Linked DNA regions of Homo sapiens: region 1 is linked to region 2. Evidence: promoter capture Hi-C in human tissues and cell types (Jung and others, 2019). All regions are on one chromosome and are shown on one strand. The core of a region is centred on a gene start or on the middle of the fragment in contact, and the rest is flanking DNA. Distances in the headings are between cores, read along the strand shown. Region 1 has its middle 29 kb from the start of EXOC2. Region 2 holds the start of DUSP22 (dual specificity phosphatase 22).

Region 1 (6,254 bases), core at 3,538-6,037, 430 kb after region 2:
GATTACAGGCGTGAGTCACCGCGCCTGGCCCACTAATGCTTCTTAACCTGTCCCTTCCTTTATGGACTTAATTGCGTCTTCCCAACATTCACATGTTGAAGTATGTGACTGTATGTGGAGATGGGACCTATAAGGAGATAACCAAGGTTAAATGAGATTGGAAGGGTAGGGCCTTGATCCAACAGGACTGATGTCCTTATAAGAAGAGAGAGAGGCATGAGGGCCATGGGAGGACACAGCAAGGGGCGCCATCTGCAAGACAAGGAGAGGTCTCAGAAGAAACCAGGCATGCCGATCTTGATCTCGATCACTGACTTGCGGCCTCTGAAACTCAAAAACGTGTTGTTTAAGCCAACCTGTCTCTGGTACTTTGTCACAGCAGCTGGAGCTGACTAATACACTTAACCTCACATACCTATTTGAATGATGTTCTTTAATCTCTTTAATCATGGTATCTCTTTAATCTCTTCCCTCTCCAGCAACCCCACTGTCGGTGCCCTCATTCAGGCACTCACTACCTTCTTCCTGCACCATTAGAAAAGTCTTCATATTGGTTTCATGTCTGCCCTAATCAACCCATTCCCTACACTCTTTCCAAGTCATCTGTCTTAGGACCAGAGCCAGGAATAGGATTAATTGGAGTCAGAGCTTCCCTTTAGGGCACTTCACCTGTTGGAGAACTGGAGAAAATATGAAGAGGATGCTCACTACGGGTGCAGGTTCCTAAGCACCACAGGAGTGTTGAAAGACAGAAACAAGCTGTAAACCCAGAGACACGCTGGGAAGAGGGAGCCCCAGCAGCCACTGCAGTGAGCTGGCCACTTGGCCACGCACAAGAAGTGGAATTTATTCATTCATTGATTTGCTCAATCATGTTGAATGAGCACAAATATATCTCTGACTTTGTTGAGCTTCTATCCTGGTGAGTGGAGACACTTAAACATAGGCATAAGTTAATGAGATGATTTAGGATGAAAAGGGGTGCTATGAAGATTCTGAAAGGGGCAGTGGGATGGTGGGAAGGGGTGCTTCTGGTAGCATGGTCAGATAAGTGGACAGAGGAAGTGACGGGACTCCTGGGATATGAAAGATGAGAGGTAGCTGGCCATGCAGGGGAATAACATCCCATGTAGAGGAAACTGCTCTTGCAAAGTAGATAAGATGGGTGGAGCCTACAGGCAGGGTCAGAGGGATTTCAGGTGTTGTGGACTGAGAAGCGCTAGATATAGCATCTTGTTGGCCATGGGAGGTGTGTTTCATCCTAATTAGACTGGTGGCCTCTGGGGGGTTGTGAACTGGGAGATGATAAGATTTTATCTCTATTTTAAGGTGGTCCTAGCTGCTGAGGGTGGAGGTGTTGCTGCTACACTGGGGTGTCAGCAATAGGAATCGGCAGGGGATGGAAGGCTCAGAGTTTCTTTTGGCAGTTAAGCTGCTGGGATTTGCTATTAGGTGGAATATGTTTGTGAGTGAAAGAGGGGCATTAAGTGTCCAGGAGGACGGTGGTGACATGGACTGAGAGAAGCAGGTTTGGGTGTGCCGATTTAGAGTTACAGTTTAGCTTGGGTAAGTTTCCGATGCAGTCATGCGTTACTTAACGATGGGGACACACTCCGAGAAATTCATCATTTACAGGTTTTGTCATTTTGTGAACATCAAAGAGTGAACTTGCACAAACCTGATACAGCACTAGCTTGTCCAACCTGCTGGCTGCAGGCCACTTGTGGCCCAGGATGGCTTTGAATGCAGCCCAACACAAACTTGTAAACTTTCTTAACACATATTTTTTTTCAATTTTTTTTTTTTTAGCTCACCAGCTATCATTAGTGTTAGTGTATTTTATGTGTGACCCAAGACAATCCTTCTTCCAGTGTGGCCCAGGGAAGCCAAAAGATTGGACACTTCTAGTATAGCCTATTGCTCCTAGGCTACAAACCTGCACAGCATGTGCAGTTGTGACACAATGGTGTTTGTGTATCTTAACATGGAAAGGTAGAGTAAAAATATGGTATCTTATTGTCTTATGGGCCCACCATCATAGATGCAGTCTCTCATTGACCAAAATTTTGTTATGTGTCACATGATGTTAGTACTAGATGTTACAGAAAGGGAGATTGGCAAATGCGTTCACAGATACCACTTAGGAAGTAAGAAAAGGGCCCAGATGGAGCGCTGCATTTGGCCAGAGGAACGTAGTTGGTGCTTTTGATAAGAGCCATTTTAGCTGAGCCATGAAGATGAAAACTGCTTTCACCAGAGCATGTTCGAGAGAGAATGTGAGGCCAGAAGGTGGAAAGTTTTGTGGAGAAGAGTAGAGAAGTGGGGGTAGGGAATCTCCAAGGGATGTGGGGTAAAAGAAGGAGTTATTTATGCTGAACTAGAGCAAGCCTTGCTTGTCTGCTGCCGGGAATGAAGCCTTCCAACTGGTGGTGCAGGAGACAGGGCCCGTCAGAAGGAGCTGGGTTCTCCTGCGGCTGGTGAGGTGAGGCACGGAGCACAAGTGATGGTGCTGAAAAAGCTAAAGTTGGGGAATGGAGGTTTTTTCCATTAGAAGAAATTTTTCTCCTAATGATACCAGGAGGATTTTTCCTCCTAATATCACTATATGATACTTTTATCTTTTATGCTGTGAATATTAAATGCCATTTGACTTTAATGGTACTATATAAACACGATGTATAATGCAAGTACTAACATTATAATTGTAATTTTAAAGAATAGTTTAATGAATGTAATGACTATTCAAATATCGTGCTAATAATTTACCATGAAGTAACAACTTTTCACTATGTTTATAGCAGATTAAGAAAAATGTCCCTTTTGGGGAGAATAGCGATAGACCAATTTTTGGATTTGAAAATCAGCGTCAATTTCCACTGTAGACTTTGGAAATGACCCTTTGCTTATGAGCTCCAAGCACCCACTAGAGGGCGCATGCGAAGGCCTCTCCAGGCACGCAAAGGAGCCGCCGGAGCCCTTTCCTTAGGAGGCGGATCTTAAACCAAATGTAAACAATTTTGCTTCATAACAGTGATGACTTACTTGTTGCTGTTTCCTAGGCAGCGAATTTAAGGGTAATGATCAAAAAGCTAAAGTTAGACGATTGAAGTTTTCTCCTTACTTGAACATTTCTTTTGTAAAAGCACATCTGTTAAACAAAAAAGATGAATATTGTTAAGCTTTTGCAGAGGTATATAAGTTCCTGAAGTCTTTTGAGATGAAAAAATGAAATCAAAATGCAAAACGCAATAATGATATATTCTGAAAGAAACTCCTCTTTGGTATTCTGTTATCAAATAGCCTTAGTGGGAAATGAATATATAGAGTCCAACTACCATTTCTCTATGGAAATAAAGCCCACGAGGTCTTTCCTTTCTTACCCAGTCCATTCCCTGATTTTAAACATTCAATAAGTTCCAAGCCAAGAAATGCATTTTTCTTCCTTTTGATGATTTTCTGTGGTTCCTTAAGATGGTTTGTAGAATATATTACGGCTGTTGACCCCTGCAGGCAGTTTCCAGATCTTCGTGGTTTCCTCTACAGCTGTGGGTATTTCTCTTGTGAAACCACAGGTCAGTTCAGAACCACAGAACTTATCCTGACAATTAGAATTTTAGCCACTGTCCTGTGGGATTTTCAGAGCCACAAGGACTCCATGCTTTCAGTCCAGATCCTTAAATTAGTACCATCTGATGCCTGAAACATTCATGCGTTATCCAAGGATCCGAGGTCAACCTTTCTCAACTTTTTATTGAAAGTTAGCATATGTGCCCATCTCCTACATGTCCCCACAAATACCCTCCCTAGAATGCAAGATCATGAGAATGAGGATTTGGCCTTCCCTATGTGTTCTCGTGCCTGCCCCGTTGCCTAGTACCTGGCCTTTGTAGCATGGCTGAGTCCTTCCTTAGGGTCTCATTTAGAGCAGTGGGTTTCAAACGTTAGATTGCATTCAACTCTGCTAGAGGGCTCGAAAAAACACGGATTTCTGGGCCCTATTCCCAGAGTTTCTGATTCATAAAGTCTGGGGAGTGGAAGAAAATCTGTATTCTAACAAGTTTCCAGGTGATGTTCTTGACGTGACAGCTAAGTTTTGAGTCCCACAGGGTTTAGAGCATTATGAGTTCCATCAGAAAGAAGAAAGGACATGCCTGATGCTGCAGAGTTCAGTTTCGACTGAGGGAGGGAACATGGCTAGTCTTCACATGGAAAGATAACCCTCATCAAGGGCATCACTGATCTTTGAGCCATGTTAAACGTGTAATGCCTGTCAACTGAATAGGACCTCTGGGCATGGAGAGAGGATGGTATGGAAACAGTCAAGTTGTTTGTTTGGAACTGGGTATGCAGTCACTTCTCACTGATTTCCCTGTGCTATTGTATTAACACTATGACAGTGTTTAAAGTATGAATTATTAACCACTTAGGCTTTTTAGCAAAGGAAGTATTTGTCTCAGTGATATCTACAATGGAAGTATTCATTTCTCCATTCACTTTTCGGAGGCATGGGTTTGGTCCTGGCTTTGCAATTACAGGCAGGAACCAGTAGGAGAACTGATCATCTGCTCCCATGTTGTATGTCTGCTGGAGGCAATATTTTGCCTTTCCATCTCCAAGTGAAGTCCGCCTGGCCCTCCCTGTCTCAGCCTGGACTTTTGGAAGCTGAGCTTCGACTGAATCAGTTTTTGCAAGGTCTAGGCTTTTTCTTTTTTCTTTCTTTTTTTTTTTTTTTTTGAGATGGAGTCTCACTCTGTCGCCCAGGCTGGAGTGCATTGGCATGATCTTGGCTCACTGCAAGCTCCGCCTCCTGGGTTCATGCCATTCTCCTGCCTCAGCCTCCCGAGTAGCTGGGACTACAGGCGCCCGCCACCACACCCGGCTAATTTTTTGTATTTTCAGTAGAGATGGGGCTTCACCATGTTAGCCAGGATGGTCTCGATCTCCTGACCTCGTGATCCACCCGCCTCAGCCTCCCAAAGTGCTGGAATTACAGGCGTGAGCCACTGTGCCTGGCCTAGGCTTTTTCCACCTGTTTGGATATCTGTTTCTTTAAAGAATCCAACATATGCAGCTTCTAAGTTTATGCTTTTCAAACAGGTGTGTGTGCGTTTCCTGCCATGTGCCAGGGGACATGAAAGAGCACAAAGTCAGCATGGCACCTCCTGGAGCAGGGATTCCAGGATTAGCCAAGTTGGAGGTTTTAGATGGAACTGGCATGCTGCCTGTGCCCTGCACTATGCCACCTCTGTTGCAGCATAGTGGACAGTCCCCATGCATGCCTTCCCGAGGGCTCATGGACTCTCTCAGCTTACCAACGGTCTTTCTCTAGAGCAGAAGTACCTTCTCAGCCAGCAGTTAGCCATTGTGGAGGTGCCAGGGGAGTTAATGCCCTTAGGAGCAACTCTTGGTCCTTGGAGGCAGGAGTCAGCACCCACTGAACGTCAGCATACATTTCCCACCTTCCAGCCCTTCCAAGGGATGATCCTCAGAAGTGTGTTCTGCTGGGTTCCTCCAAAGCTCTCAGTGAGACCCAGCTCCAGTTGCCCATAGTGGCAACCCAGCTCAACCATGCCCTCCTAACACCTTTTCTTTCTTCCCTGACCTTTCTGCCTGCACTCAAGTCTTTTCTCAGTTTGCAAAACCAGGATACACAATATTTAGTATCTCCCAAACGTAAAATAAGTGGAGTGCAAAATTCAAAGAAAATTCAGGATGCATAGTAGTGTTTAGAGAACAACATGGGGCTGTCATGATATATTAGACACTTGCTTTCCCTTCCATGAAAAAAAAAAAAGGAAAACAATTGCTCTGTGTTCTAAAGAAGATTCATTATCTGCTGTCTCTTTACTTACTGCATACATACACCTCAGACTTCTGCAATTTGGCTTCAGACCCCACTTTCCACTGAAACTCCTAATCAGTAGCCTCTAAATCTTCTTCTCCATGAGGATGGACTTTTTTTCCATTTGTTTGTGTCATCTCTGATTTCTTTGAAGAGTGCTTTGCATTCTCATTGCAGGGGTCTTTCACCTCTCTGGCTGGCTGTGTTCCTAAGTATTTTATTCTTTTTGTGGCAGTTGTGAATGGTATTGCCTTCCTGATTTGGCTCTGAGCTTGGCTGTTGTTGGTGTACAGAAATGCTACTGATTTTTGTCCATTGATTTTGTATACTGAAACTTTGCTGAAGTTGTTTATTAGCTGAAGGAGCTTTTGGGCTGAGACGGTGGGGTTTCCTAGATGTAGAATCATGTTGT
Region 2 (7,023 bases), core at 1-2,500:
GGCAGGTATGCAGAGAGCTGGGGATCCAGGTGTCTGGATAGAGAGCACAGCCCAGCAAGCCTGACAGGCTCAAGGAACAGACAGGAGACCAGCATGTGTGTAACTCGCTTAGCAAGAAGATAAAATGAAGTCAGCAGGGGTGAGCCAGGGCACGTCAGATTGACGCATGTACTCATTCAGCAAATATTTATTAAGCACCTACTATGTTCAGGACATTGTTGAGGATACATAAATTAAGAAGAAAAACCACTGGCTCAAGGATTCTGTCGCTGGAGAGAAACTTCAGAGTTTAATAACGTTGATAGAACACCCAAAACAATTCTGCTACAGTTTAGAAATTGATCCATTCCAGACAGAACCACAATGCAGACATTAAGGGACACACATCATCTAAGGCCGTGAGGTCTGAGGTCAGAGATCCAGCCATCTGCTCCCCCAGGGTAGGGAGGTCGGGCCTCCCCGGGGTGAGTCACGTAGCCCACCTCTCCCCACCAGGCGAGGCTTCTCGGTCTTGGTGCATGGGGCAGGGCCGCAGGAAATCCCCCAGCCTAAATCTGCCGCACTCAGAAAACCCAGGCAGGGGAGCCCCCAGAGACCAGGCCTCTGATTAGCACCTGATTCACGGAGGCAGCCAAGGCTGGGTAGCGACTGCTGGTAACTGGCCCCCGGAGTCGCCCCAGGGGAAAAGGCCAAAGGGGGATCTGGAGACCCCCGGCCGGGGAGCGGGCTCCGAGACGAGCGCAGCCGCCCGGTCAGGGCAGCGCCTGCGCGTCCGCCAGGCCCCGCCGCGCAGCCTCGGGTGTCCCGGCGGGGCGGCTCGGGCCGCGCACGCGCTCTGGCCTCCGGGGCCGGCCGCCTGGGAGCCCGAGCCTAGTGCCTCCCACGCCCGGCGGCCGCGAGCCGGGGTCCGCGAGGGCGGAGTGGGGCGCGGCAGCCAGGAACCCGACTACGAATCCCAGGGTGCGGGCGGGCGGAGCGAGGAGGGACGCTGGGCCTGCCCGGTGCGCACGGGGGCGGGGACCGGCAAGGCGGGACCATTTCCCGGCATAGGCTCCGGTGCCCCTGCCCGGCTCCCGCCGGGAAGTTCTAGGCCGCCGCACAGAAAGCCCTGCCCTCCACGCCGGGTCTCTGGAGCGCCCTGGGTTGCCCGGCCGGTCCCTGCCGCTGACTTGTTGACACTGCGAGCACTCAGTCCCTCCCGCGCGCCTCCTCCCCGCCCGCCCCGCCGCTCCTCCTCCCTGTAACATGCCATAGTGCGCCTGCGACCACACGGCCGGGGCGCTAGCGTTCGCCTTCAGCCACCATGGGGAATGGGATGAACAAGGTAACGTCTTCCCTCGTTCGCGCTGGGTTTGCCTCCGCTCCGACGCCCTGCCGTCTCGCCGGCGTCGGCTGCCCGACGACTCGAGCCCGGGGTGCCCTTTCCCGCGGTGGGGACGGGCGCGGAGGGAGGGGCGGCGCGCCTGGGCGGCGACCGCGGAGTCGGGGTTCGGAGGTGTTCCCGCCCCCACCCCACCCGGCTTCCGGGTAGGCAGCCCCCAGCCGCCTGCCTTGCCAGCCGGTGCGTTTTCGTGGCTGAAACAAGCCGCGCCCTTTGAAAGCGTTGACACTTGTTCTGCCGAGAGGTCAGCTGAGCTCCGAATGGATGTGGCTTCTTTTTTGCCCTCCTCTTCGCTCCCAAACTACGCTCTTGAAGCCACCACCGCCCCCCCCACATCATTAGTAAACGGGTGTCCTCTGTAATTTCCTCTTTCTCCTCAGATTCTGTGTGTGTGCCTGTGAGCACAGAGAAGTTTTTCTTGTGGACAGAGAAGTTAACAGAGTCCTAAGTCCTGAGCTGTTTCTAGATAGTGGGGAGGAGAGAAAAGATTCAGAGTTGATTAGGTTATGTGACTTCTGCAACAAGGGCAACCTGTTGCTGGCTGCTTGCGCTGATGAGGCCTTCTGGAAAATCTGTGTTGCTCCATTTGTCCCGTCCGTTTCTGGGCCCCACCCTGTGTTCTTTTGTTGCCCGCACCTCACTTCCCGGGCGGTGGGCTAGCCTTTCCCGTCCAGGGAAGTTGCCAGATTCCAGCTCTGGCAGCTGAGAGTTGCCGGGGTGTATTCATGTGAACCACAGGGTTAAGGATTTTGTTACTTGGTACTTGGCTGGTTTCGAGGAAGGATTGACAAGACTTTACAAAGCCCGCAACAAAGACAAGTACCTTTTTACGGGTCTTTGAATGGTCCTGGATTAGATGAGTCGTCTTTCTGCTTCACTTTTTCATTGCGCTCCACCCACCCACATCTCTACATGCCGTCAGCTTCCACACTGGGTGGGGATGGCAATGTGGCTGTGTTTTTTTTCATGTCCCTCAGCACTGGGTCAGCAGTGGTTTGGGTGTTGGGGCTGGAGTGTTGCAAATGCGGATTCACGGTAGGGCAGGGAAAACCTAGCTAACTTTTCACGTGCGCATGTCGTGTTTATTGTGTCCTGGTTACCCAGTTTGTGAAAGAACTATTGTGTGTTTGGGACCTGCATATCAATACTGGGGTATTTTGGTAAAGAGAATTGTATTCACTTTTTTTTTTTTTTTTTTTTTGGCGAGTGATCAAGTTTGGAAACAGACTGTCTCTCTCTTGGATAAATACTTGTATTATATTCCGATGAGCACTGGAATCCATCAGCACCACGAGCCTTCTGCTTTTTAAATTAAAACAGAACAATAAAGATGGTCATCATAAGTCTGTGGGCTCCGTTTGCCTTCCCATTGGTGGTGGTATCTCAGCTTTCCTTTGGCTGTTTCTAGTTTTCCCACTTGAGCTGTTCACTCTCCACCGTTTTCAGCATTTAATTTATAGTATTTGTGTAATACAATTCAAAAAATATATTTAGGAATACAGATGGTTGCCTAAGGGATCAACGTTATTTTCATGCTTTTCAACAAAAGCAGTAATATTCATATACTTTTTACCTTTCAAAATGGGTAATAAATTTCTTGACTTTTATTATCTTGTGAATAGAGACTCACAGTGTATCAATGAAGAAATACATGTATAGAGAGATTTAGAGACTTCCCTGCTTCAACACTTATTGATTATGTACATACTATGAGCCAGGTGTTGTGCTAGTGGGTGGGGAGGGGGCAAAGGGAGTACAGTGGTAAATGACCCAAAGATTCTTCACAGAACCTTCAGTACAGGTCAGCATTGTCCAGCACTAATATGATGCGAGCTATATATGTAACTTAAAATGTTCCGGTAGCCACATTAAAAAATAAACCGGTGAAATTAATTTTAATAATATATTTTATTTAACAATATATTAAAACTATTGTTTCAACATGTAACCAATATATAAAGTTATTCATGGAAGATTCCATGTTTTTTACTATGTCTTTGTGAAAGGAAAAATCTCGGGACCCCCAGATCACTTAACCTTCAAAGTCTAGTGTGTATTTTATGCCTAAATCACATCTCATTTTGGACTAGCCACATTTGGAGTACTCGATAGTCACTGTGGCTAATGGCTGCTGTGTTGCACAACACAGGGTGTGTATGTGTGTGGGGGTGAGAGAGAGAACAAACACAAGGTAGGGAGGAGTAGAGGCTCCAGAGGATAAAATAGGCAATTTCAGAAAAGTGGGGAAAGCAGAAGATGGGATGAAAGTGACCTAGAAGGGGCATTCAGCCCAGGCAAGGAATCCTGCTGCAGTAAACATGTTTAACGTGAGATCAGGAGGAACTACCCCAAATCACAAGGTTCATTAGTGGCAAAGTAGATCGCAGGAGGCCAGTAACTTAAGAACCTTAACTAGAACTTTTCCATATATTACTGTGTGACTTGGAACGAGGCTTCATCTGTAAAAAAAGAAGAATGGTTGATTTGCAGAATCAGCGGAAGGTGCTACCCCTAGAAATCCTTTTCTAAGAACATTTATAAATATGTGCAATGTCTTTGGAACTAACATAACTTGGAATGTGTGTGCCCTGAGGTTACTGGGACAAGATTTCTTTCCAATCTCGTACACATTGGTCATTTTTGGCAAAAGAGCATTTCTGGTCTAAACAGTGCACGCTGCATTCTGAGTGCTTTGGGACAGCAGTTTTTATCATTCACATCCCTGTGGTGGCTCTTCTTGTCGGTCCGTTCCGGGCTCCTGTACGGCGGAATATTGTGCCCGTTTCCGTTAGGTGTACGCAGCAGATTATACAGAAGATGGAGGGGAAAAAGGCTTTTATATTCTAGAAAATTAAAGATGAGGAAATAAAGACAGGACTGGGCGTGGTGGCTCGTGCCTGTAATCACAGCACTTTGGGAGATTGAGGCAGGTGGACTGCTTGAGTCCAGGAGTTTAGAACCAGCCTGGGCAACATGGCAAAACCCTGTTTCTACCAAAAATACAAAAAAAAAACCCACAAAAACAAAGCAATCAGCCGAGTGTGTGGTGGCTTGTGCCTGTAGTCCCAGCTACTTGGGAGGCTGAGGTGGGAGAATCACCTCAGCCCGGGAAGTCTAGGCTGGAGCGAGTCGTGATTGTGCCACCGCACTCCAGCCTGAGCGACAGAGCGAGACCCTGTTTCAAAAAAAAAAAAAAAAAAACCCAACAACAACACAGTTGTGAACCATTTTTTTTAACACTTTATAAAATCTCAGCCTCACGGTAGCCCTATGAGGTCAAACGACCTTATATTTGCCCAGATTGGGGAATGGAGATTTGGAGAGGTTAGGTAGCATAAGTAATGCCAGGCAGGGCAGAACCCAGTCTCCACTGATTTTGAAGATAGGAAAAGTCTTTCCTTTGAGCTGAGATGCTAATTCATCCCAAGTAAGTTTTAAAATTCCTAAAAAGTAACTTGAAAAGCTCCTCATAGCTTCGATTACTTGTCAAATAGCCAAAATCACCTCCTCTCTTCCTTTATGTTTGACATTGATAAGGAAGGGGGTAATTACAGGCAAGAAACTAAAACTTTTTTTTTATTGTTTTTGTTTGTGTGTGCAATTCCTAGGTAGATGCCCCACACTGGCCAAAATTATAATTGCCAATGAGTTTATGGTGTGTTTTGAGTACTTTACCACATAGAGTAAGCCACAACTCCATGAAGTAGATCCTGTTATTTTCATGCCTGTTTTCTGGTTGTACACAGAGGCTAAGGGAACTGCCAGGGTCACCCAGCTGGTGAGTAGCAGAGCCTGGACTCAAAGCCACAGTCTGGCTCGGCCACAATGCAGAGTGCCTCACCACGCTGCTAAGATATTAGTCTAGTAAATGTCTCTGGTAAGATTAGGGTTAAACTAAACAGGGTGTTGCATGCAAATGTCGTGTTCCTGTGGAGCCTTTGAAAACTCCTAGTTGACTCAAAGTTCTCTCGAGTCTGAACCCTCAAATCTTTTGGGGGAGAGCCTATAAACAAAACTCCTATCCTCACTGTCTACTTATTAGTCTTCAGTACTACAATACCCCATTAAAAACAAAACAAACGACTAGTCTCTAGCCAAACATTATGTCAGAGAAGGCTGCCCCAAATGCTTCTCATGTGCAAGAAGTCTTTATCTTGATCAGCCTAAAAGTGGGCTGAAGCCTTGCATTCTAGGGCAGGATATGAGGACCCTCTGGTTGGCATCTTGCCCTCCACTGACTGCCAGGGTTCGTTTAGCTCATCAAGCATCCGGCCTGCCTGGTCTTGTGGCCTCTTCCTTCCTCCCTGCTGTGTGTCCTCTGAAAGCACCCTGCCTGGTGGGAATGGCTGCCATCCCTGTCCTTCTCGGGAAGCCTCTCATGGTGCTGGGAGGCCTCACTTCAGTGGGTGCATCTTGTTTCCATGGGGAGCGCACTGTTGCTAAGAGGGGCTGGCTAACAAAAAGCCTGATCTGGGGCACCTCCACCACTGCTGCTTCATGGGTGTGATCCTGAAGAAGTCACTTAAATGTTTCTAAGCTTCAGGATTTTTTTCCTTCCTGGATTCATAGATGTATAGAACTAAGAAACCTTAGGTGGTTAGCTAATCCAGTCTCCTTACTGGCTGTAAAATGAGGGTAATGATACCTTCCCCAATTACTAATTGGGTTATTGGGAGAAGCAAATGGGAATTTATTAGAACACATTTTTCCAAACTGTGAAGTGCAAATACAGTCTGTTTTGAGTGTTCTTGGATGTGACTGACACTTGTTTGAGGATGGCTCTTGCCCTGTTAGGAAGATGAGGGAGTATAGTTGGGAAAGGATTATAATTCAAAGAGAATATGTTCCCTCTAGGCATAGACCGGTGTTCCTCAACGGCTACACCTGTAGACATTTCAGGATAATTACTTGTGAGACTGCCATGTGGATTATGAGAGGTTTAGCAACATCTCAGATCTTCACCCAATAGTTGCCAGTAGCACCTCCCCACCTGTGACAACCAAAAATGTCCCTGATGTTGGCAGATATCCCCTGGGGAGTGAAATCATCCCCAGTTGAGAACCACTATTGAGGGTTCTTCCTCTCAGAATTTCCTGAGGCCTGTGTGATCTGGAACTGGAGAGTTATCAAAAGGTGGAGTAGGGCTTACAGGGTTGAGAAGCTCTGTTTTCATACGGGAAGGGCTGGCAGGTCAGGCACCTTTGTGCTGCTAAATCCATTTTTTCCACCTGGCAGCAGGTGACTTGGCTGCCTGCGTAATCCAGTCATCCATCCATGCACCTGTTCACCATATTGTTATTGAACACAGTCAAGACACTGTGTTAGATCCTGTAGTGAGCTGTTAATAGGAAAGACACGAAGACCCTGCCATGCAGATCAGTCCCAGGCAGCTTGGAGAGGAGCCTCCTGCAGGAAATGAACACTCAGCCACTGCTGCAGGACTGACAGACAGATGGCCACATGCCGGTGGGCTCTGGTTCCTTTCCTCTACACCACCCCCCGAGGGCTCTCTCTTTTCTCCATTTAATATTACATTTTTATTTCGTGTTGAAGAACAGATGTTAAAGGCAGTGTTCTAAGGGCCCAGGAGAGTATTCTCATATTCTTCCCTTTTTATATGCAAACTGGTTAAGTCCATGGCC

What was found. The method cuts DNA at HindIII sites, captures the fragments that hold promoters and counts their contacts. A contact is called where the count stands out against the background at its distance.
Region 1: a contact is called between a fragment that was not itself captured here and the fragment with the promoter of DUSP22 in region 2, in 1 of the 25 tissues and cell types used here (mesendoderm cells).

What each region holds. Positions count from the first base shown.
Region 1 is chr6:719,247-725,500 of GRCh38, forward strand. No RefSeq gene overlaps it. Among named protein-coding and RNA genes, the nearest start is that of EXOC2, 29 kb to the left of the region's middle. RefSeq lists a silencer at 2,857-2,936. The HindIII fragment of the contact is 7,049 bases long and covers 1,264-6,254 here.
Region 2 is chr6:291,237-298,259 of GRCh38, forward strand. DUSP22 (dual specificity phosphatase 22) reads left to right here and starts at 1,251. Exons shown (of 7, transcript NM_001286555.3): 1 at 1,251-1,324. The coding sequence starts at 1,304. RefSeq lists enhancers at 214-503, 430-930, 931-1,431, 1,724-1,983, 5,411-5,570 and 1 more and silencers at 614-1,633, 2,378-2,534, 2,414-2,473, 2,484-2,543. The HindIII fragment of the contact is 13,317 bases long and covers 1-7,023 here.